Regions from separate parts of the Homo sapiens genome. Here region 1 is linked to region 2. Evidence: promoter capture Hi-C in human tissues and cell types (Jung and others, 2019). All regions are on one chromosome and are shown on one strand. The core of a region is centred on a gene start or on the middle of the fragment in contact, and the rest is flanking DNA. Distances in the headings are between cores, read along the strand shown.

Evidence for each region. Contacts are between HindIII fragments. The study calls those that stand out against the background at their distance.
Region 1: the fragment with the promoter of MYO15B here is called in contact with a fragment that was not itself captured in region 2 in 2 of the 25 tissues and cell types used here (mesenchymal stem cells and spleen).

Annotation. Positions count from the first base shown.
Region 1 is chr17:75,586,550-75,589,049 of GRCh38, forward strand. It overlaps MYO15B (myosin XVB), which reads left to right and starts at 1,251. Exons shown (of 64, transcript NM_001395058.1): 1 at 1,251-2,500. The coding sequence starts at 1,509. RefSeq lists enhancers at 1,067-1,900, 1,403-1,472, 1,901-2,500 and a silencer at 2,353-2,482. The HindIII fragment of the contact is 22,601 bases long and covers 1-2,500 here.
Region 2 is chr17:75,375,326-75,379,660 of GRCh38, forward strand. The region is part of intron 2 of GRB2 (growth factor receptor bound protein 2); the gene reads right to left. Among named protein-coding and RNA genes, the nearest start is that of GRB2, 28 kb to the right of the region's middle. The HindIII fragment of the contact is 7,732 bases long and covers 1-4,335 here.

The sequences.
Region 1 (2,500 bases), core at 1-2,500, 210 kb after region 2:
GCATGTGCCACCACACCTAGGTAATTTTTGTATTTTTAGTAGAGATGGGGTTTCACCATGTTGGCCAGGCAGATCTCGAACTCCTGACATCAGGTGATCCACCCACTTCGGCCTCCCAAAATGCTGGGATTACAGGCATGAGCCACCTCACTTGGCCAGGATCCACTTTGGATGTAGAAACCCATCAATAAGGAATTGGTTCAACCATGGTGCATTTATTTGCAAGGAAGAGAGGGAGGAGAGAAGGGAGGAAGGCAGGCTGGCTTTTTATGGTATTATTATGAAATCACCAGATTACATTGTTAAGTGAAAAAGGCAAAGTGGAGACCCCGGAGCTACATAAGCTACCACTTGTGCTAAAGGGGAAAAATATAATATTTGCTTTTCTCTGCATGGAAAGTTTTTGTTGTTGTTTCTTTGTTTTTGAGACAAACAAAATGCTGTCACCCAGGCTGGAGTGCAGTGGTGTGATCTCAGCTCACTGCAAGCTCTGCCTCCTGGGTTCATGCCATTCTCTCCTGCCTCCTGGGTTCATGCCATTCTCTTGCCTCAGCCTCCCGAGTAGCTGGGACTACAGGCGCCCCCCACCACGACCGGCTAATTTATCGTATTTTTTAGTAGAGACGGGGGTTTCACCATGTTAGCCAGGATGGTCTCCATCTCCTGACCTCGTGATCCGCCCTCCTTGGCCTCCCAGAGTGCTGGGATTACAGGCGTGAGCCACCGCGCCCGGCCAACCTGGAAAATTTTGCAAGGAAATACAGAAATGGGTAACCTCAGGGGAACACTGAGTACATAGGCTGAGGGTCAGGAATGGGAGACTTTTATCTTGTAATGTTTGGATGTTTGAATTATGTGAATGTATTACCTGTTTTAAAAATAGATATTTTAAAAACACACACATTGGGGCAATCAGGAATGTATGGGGTGTGGTTCTGTTCCACAACTCCAAGGAGGTAGACAGGCATGTTTTACACCAGTTCAAGATGTACATTTATGTTTTATGTACTTTTCGGTAAATTGTATTTATTCCACAATTGAAAAGAACAAAAACCCTAGCGACTCATGGAGTGCTGCCGTGTGCCAGGGTGGGCCTGGCCCCAGTCCCTTGGAACCCTCAGAAGGAAGAAGTCCAGACAGGTTCTCTGGGCCCTTCCTTGCTGGGCAAGCACTGAGGTGGGAGTGGAGCATGGACCCCCTCAGTCTGGCGCGGTGCGAGGCTGGCCTGGCTGGCAGCGCCTCCCGGCGGCACTGTTGCCCTGTCCGCAGCTGTAGCGTCTCCTGTTTCCTGGGCGCCTCTATTCCATTGTTGGCCGAGGGGGTCAGGACCCGCCGCCTTCTGCATTATTGATGGTCCTGTAAGGCGGGCACCTCGGGGAGTAGAGCCTGTAGCCCCTGCGAGAGCAGAGCCGGGTGGTGCACTGCACAGAAGGTCACCGCGGGAGGCCAAATCCCCGGGGAGGGGAAAGGACCTGGGCGTCGGGAAGCCCGTCTCCTTTGGGCCAGCCATGGGCAGGAACCAGCGCAAAGCGCCCCAGCGCCTGGAGAGGCCCGGGAGGCCGGCCTCAGGGGAGCAGGAGTCGGGGTCGGCCAGCGCGGATGGCGCGCCCAGCCGGGAACGCCGTTCCGACCGCGGGCAGGCGGACAGGGCGAAACCGGCGGCCGAGCCTGCCACCGCCGGGGGCCAGGGAACCCCTGGTGGCCGCAGGAAGCCCACTGCAGAGGGGAACGGCGGCTGCAGACGCCCAGGGGCTGGGCTGTCCCCGAAAGCCCAGGAGAGGCAAAGCAACGCGCAGCGTCAGGGACGCGGGCCCAGGGGCGGCCGCGGGGGGCGCCTGGAGGAGGGAAGCCTCTCCGGAGGAGAAGAGCTGGGCGGCCGCCGTAGGAGGAAGCGGAAAGATAAGGGGCCCTCGGCTCGGCGGGGCCGCCGGACGCCCAGGAGCCTCAATGGGGACACGTCGGGTGGGGACGGAGGCAGCTCCTGTCCGGACAGCGAAACCCGCGAGGCCCAGGAGAGCGGCAGCCAGCGCGGCACAGCCCGGGAGCTGCGGCCCACGCCGGAGCCTACGGACATGGGCTCGGAAGGGACAAAAACCGGGCCGGAGTCAGCGCTGGAGCCAAGCAGCGACGGCCTGGACAGCGACTGGCCCCACGCAGATACCCGGGGCCGGGAAGGGTCGTCGGGGACGGGGCCCCTGGGAGCCAGCGAGCATTCCGGCGGGGACTCCGACTCGAGTCCGCTGGGGACCGGACCTGGACGGGGCTCTCGGGCAGCTATGGCCTCCAGGACCTTCGAGGACAGCTCGCGGGCTCCTCGGGACACTGGGCCGGCCAAGGACGCGAGCGACAACCGGGCGCAGCGGGGCGCCGAGCCAGAAACAATGCAGGCCTCGACGGCCCGGGCTCCGCGCCACCAGGTCGGAAAGGCGGTGGGGCAGGTGCCAGCGGCGGCAGGCGAGGGCGAAGCGGGAGCCGCAGCAGGAGCGGGGCCGGAGGACCC
Region 2 (4,335 bases), core at 494-2,993:
TGCTGATTATGAATTATGATGAATTTCATGGTAGTTAAATCCATTTGAACACAATCTTCAGGAAAAAAAAAAGAGAGAAAGTAATTAACCAATAGATCTAACAACATCTATAGAAGACTCTACCCAACAACAGCAGAATAAAAATCTATCTCAAGCGCACAGGAGAACATTCTCAGGACAAACCAGATGGTAGGCCATAAAACAAGCCCCAATAAATCTGAAAGTATTAAAATCATACAAAGTATGTTCTACAACTACAATGAAAATAGAAATCAGCCGGGCACAGTGGCTCACACCTGTAATCCCAACACTTTGGGAGGCCGAGGCAGGCAGATTAACTGAGGCTAGGAGTTTGAGACCATCTTGGCAAATATGGTGAAACCTCGTCTCTACAAATATACAAAAAGTACTGGGGACTGGCCGGGCGCAGTGGCTCAAGCCTGTAATCCCAACACTTTGGGAGGCAGAGGCAGGTGGATCACGAGGTCAGGAGATCGAGACCATCCTGGCTAACACGGTGAAACCCTGTATCTACTAAAAATACAAAAATTTAGCCGGGCGTGGTGGTGGGCGCCTGTAGTCCCAGCTACTCGGGAGGCTGAGGCAGGAGAATGGCGTGAACCCAGGAGGCAGAGGTTGCAGTGAGCCAAGATTGCGCCACTGCACTCCAGCCTGGGCGACAGAGCAAGACTCCGTCTCAGAAAAAAAAAAAAAAAAAAAAAATTACCGGGGCCTGCATGAGCGCAGTGGCTCACGCCTGTAATCCCAGCACTTTGGGAGGCCAAGGCAGGCGGATTGGCTGAGCTCAGGAGTTTGAGACCAGCCTAGGCAACACGGTTAAACCCCATCTCTATTGAAATACAAGAAATCAGCCAGGCGTGTCGGCATGCGCCTATATAGTCCCAGCTACTTGGGAGGCTGAGGCAGGAGAATTGCTTGAACCTGGGAGGCAGACGTTGCAGTGAGCCGAGATTGTGCCACTGCACTCCAGCCTGGGTGACAGACAGAGACTCTGTCTCAAAAAAAAAAAAAAAAAAAAAAATTTTTTAACCCGACCTGGTGGCATGCTCCTGTAATCCCAGCTACTCAGGAGGCTGAGGCAAGAAAATCTCTTGAATGCGGGAGGTGGAGGCTGCAGTGAGCTGAGACTGCACTGCTGCATTTCAGCCTGGGCAACAGAGGGAGACTCTGTTTCAAAAAAAAAAAAAAAAGATTAGTGAAGCATGAACTTCTACTGATTGTCTTGCACATAGACATTTTTAGCCTGTATAACATAATTTGTAACCAACGATTATAACTTACATATTGTACCATCCAATGAAAAGACAACTCTGGTATGAGGAGGAGTACCCTTCCTTCTTTTAAACTTTCCTAAAAACCTTTCACAGGCCAGGCAAGGTGGCTTACACCTGTAATCTGTAATCCCAGCACTTTGGGAGGCCAAGGTGAGAGGATCCCTTAATCCCAGAAGTTTGAGACAAGCCTGGGCAACATAATGAGACTCCATCCCTACAAAACAAAACAAAACAAACAAACAAACAAAAACTAGTTGGGCATGGTGGTGGATACCTGTAGTTCCAGAGACTAGGGTGGGAGGATCAACTGAGCCTGGAATGTTGGGGCTGTACTGAGCCATGATTGTACCTCTGCACTCCAGCCTGGGTAAGAGAGCCAGACCCTGTCTCAAAAACATAAAGACAGACCTTCATAGCTGGGCCCAGTGACTCACATCTATAATCCGAGCTACTTGGGAGGCTGAGATGGGAGGATCACTCGAGACCAGCCTGGGCAACATAGTGACCCCCCGCTACAAAAAAAAAATATTAAAAGTTACATTTTTAAATATAATACAGGGTGTGGTGGTGCGCATCTGTAGTCCCAGCTACTGAGGAGACTGAGGTGAGATGATCACTTGAGCCCAGGAGTTCGAGGCTGCAATGAACTATGGTGGGGCCACCGTACTCCAGCCTGGGGTGACAGAATGAGACCCCATGTTTATTGCAAACAAAAAGTGGCCAGGCAGAGTGGTTCATGCCTGTAATCCCAACACTTTGGGAGGTCAAGGCAGGAGGACTGCTTGAGGCCATGAGTTCGAGATCAGCCTGGGCAACATGGCGGGATCTTGTTTCTACAAAATACAAAAAGTTAGCTGGGCATGGTGGTGCTCACCTGCTGTCCCAGCTACTCGGGAGGCTGAAGTGGATGAAGTGCTTGAGCCTAGGAAGTTGAGGCTGCACTCCAGCCCAGGCAACAGAGCGAGACCCTGTCTCAGAAAAAAAAAAAAAAAAAAAAAAAAAAAGGCTGGGTGTGGTAGTTCACGCCTGTAATCCCAGTACTTTGGGAGGCTGAGGCAGGTGGATCACTTCAGGTCAAGAGTTAGAGACCAGCCTGGCCAACATGGCAAAACCCTGTCTCTACTAAAAGTACAAAAATTAGCCGGGTATGGTGGCACACGCCTGTAGTCCCAGCTACTAGGGAGGCTGAGGTGGTAGAACTGCTTGAACCCGGGAGGCAGAGGTTGCAGTGAGCCAAGATCATGACACTACACTCTAGCCTGGGCAAGAGAGTAAGACTCTAAAAAAGAAAACAACCCACGAAGAAACAAACAGCAAAACAAAAACATCTTTCACCTTGTGACAGACTTCAGAACAACCCCCAAGTCTGCTGGTGTGTCTTCCCAGGTCGATTCTCATTTGCCAGGCCTTCCAATAAACCTTTATGAAATCATTTCTGCCTCAATAGTCTTAGTTTCAGTTGACAATATAAATCCCAAACCCAGGCCAGGTGCAGTGGCTCACGCCTGTAATTCCAGCACTTTGGGAGGCCGAGGTGGGGGGGAGGATCACCTGCAGTCAGGAGTTCGAGACCAGCCTGACCAACATGGTGAAACACCGTCTCTACTAAAAATACAAAAATGAGCTGAGCGTGGTGGTGGGCAGCTGTAATCCTAGCTACTTGGGAGGCTGAGGCAGGAGAATCACAGGAGGGCGGAGGTTGTAGTGAGCTGAGATCTCGCCACCGCATTTCAGCCTGGGCAACAGAGTGAGACTGTCTCAAAAAACAAACAAACAAACAAACACCCAAACCCAAAAGCAAGTTACACAAGAATAATTTTTCATGTGGTCACCTGAGGATATGCGGGTGAGAGGCATGTCCTTTTTGCCAGGCCTTTAATATCTAACAGGGAAGGGATGAAGTGAGAGAAAAACATATAGAAATTTCACACATGAACGTACAACACTAACAAACTCATAGCTAAATATGAAAATTACTACTAAGAACTTTAAAGGTAACAACTGTTCAGGTGGGTGTAGTTCTAGTACAAGCTTAAACATGGCAGATTGGACAGGCCTCTGAGCAGATACAGTGTGACTTTCTCCAAGTTTACGAACAACTACAGTATTAGTTCTTCTGTACTGGTAACCTAAGTATAGAAGGAGACGAACCAATTAATTAAGGGAAGGCTTGTACGGTCTACCAGTTCTCACTTCTAGCATTAAATGAGGCCATTAGTTACAAATTCACTGGGATATATGACGTGGACTACTTCAGCACAATGTTTTGGAAAATTCACACAAATTTCGGTTCACAATCTATTCTGATTAGCTTTAATATGATTTTGAGAAAAGTCTTAATCATTGTATCTTTTCTAAGAGCCTGGCACAGAAATCCTCTGAGCTACTGCCACTTTCTAAAGAGGTACACTTTAACAGAAATGCCATTCTTCTCTCCAAAGATGAAGTACCTGCTTACTTTCATTATAAAATTTTGAATATGGTTTCATTGTTATGTTTTATGGTACCCAGGAACTGCAATAAAAGTAACTATGGCTATATGCATTAAACGTTTTTTCTGAAAGGTTATAGAAAACCTGAATAGTGATTTTCTTTGGGAAGGTTTGTCATATAAATTTTCTAATGATGAGTGAGACATTTATTTATTTGCTTATTTAATTTCAAAATTGTTATCTGGGCATCAGGAGGGAATTATGACCTAATTTATTTTATGCTTTTTCTATTAAATGATTCTAATAAAAATTTTAAAAGAATTAAATAAAGAAGACACTTGATTTCTTAAAAAAAAAAAAAAGAAAGACAGGGTCACACACTGTCACCCAGGCTGGAGTACAGTGGGGCAAACATAGCTCATTGTAGTCTCCACCTCCTGGGCTCAAGCAGTCTTCCCACCTTAGCGTCCCAAGTAGCTGGAACTACAGGCATGCACCACCACACCTGGTTAATTTTTTTTATTTTTAGTAGAGACAGGGTCTTGCTATGTTGCCCAGGCTGGTCTTGAACTCCTGAGCTCAAGTGGTCCTCCCACTTCAGCCTCCCA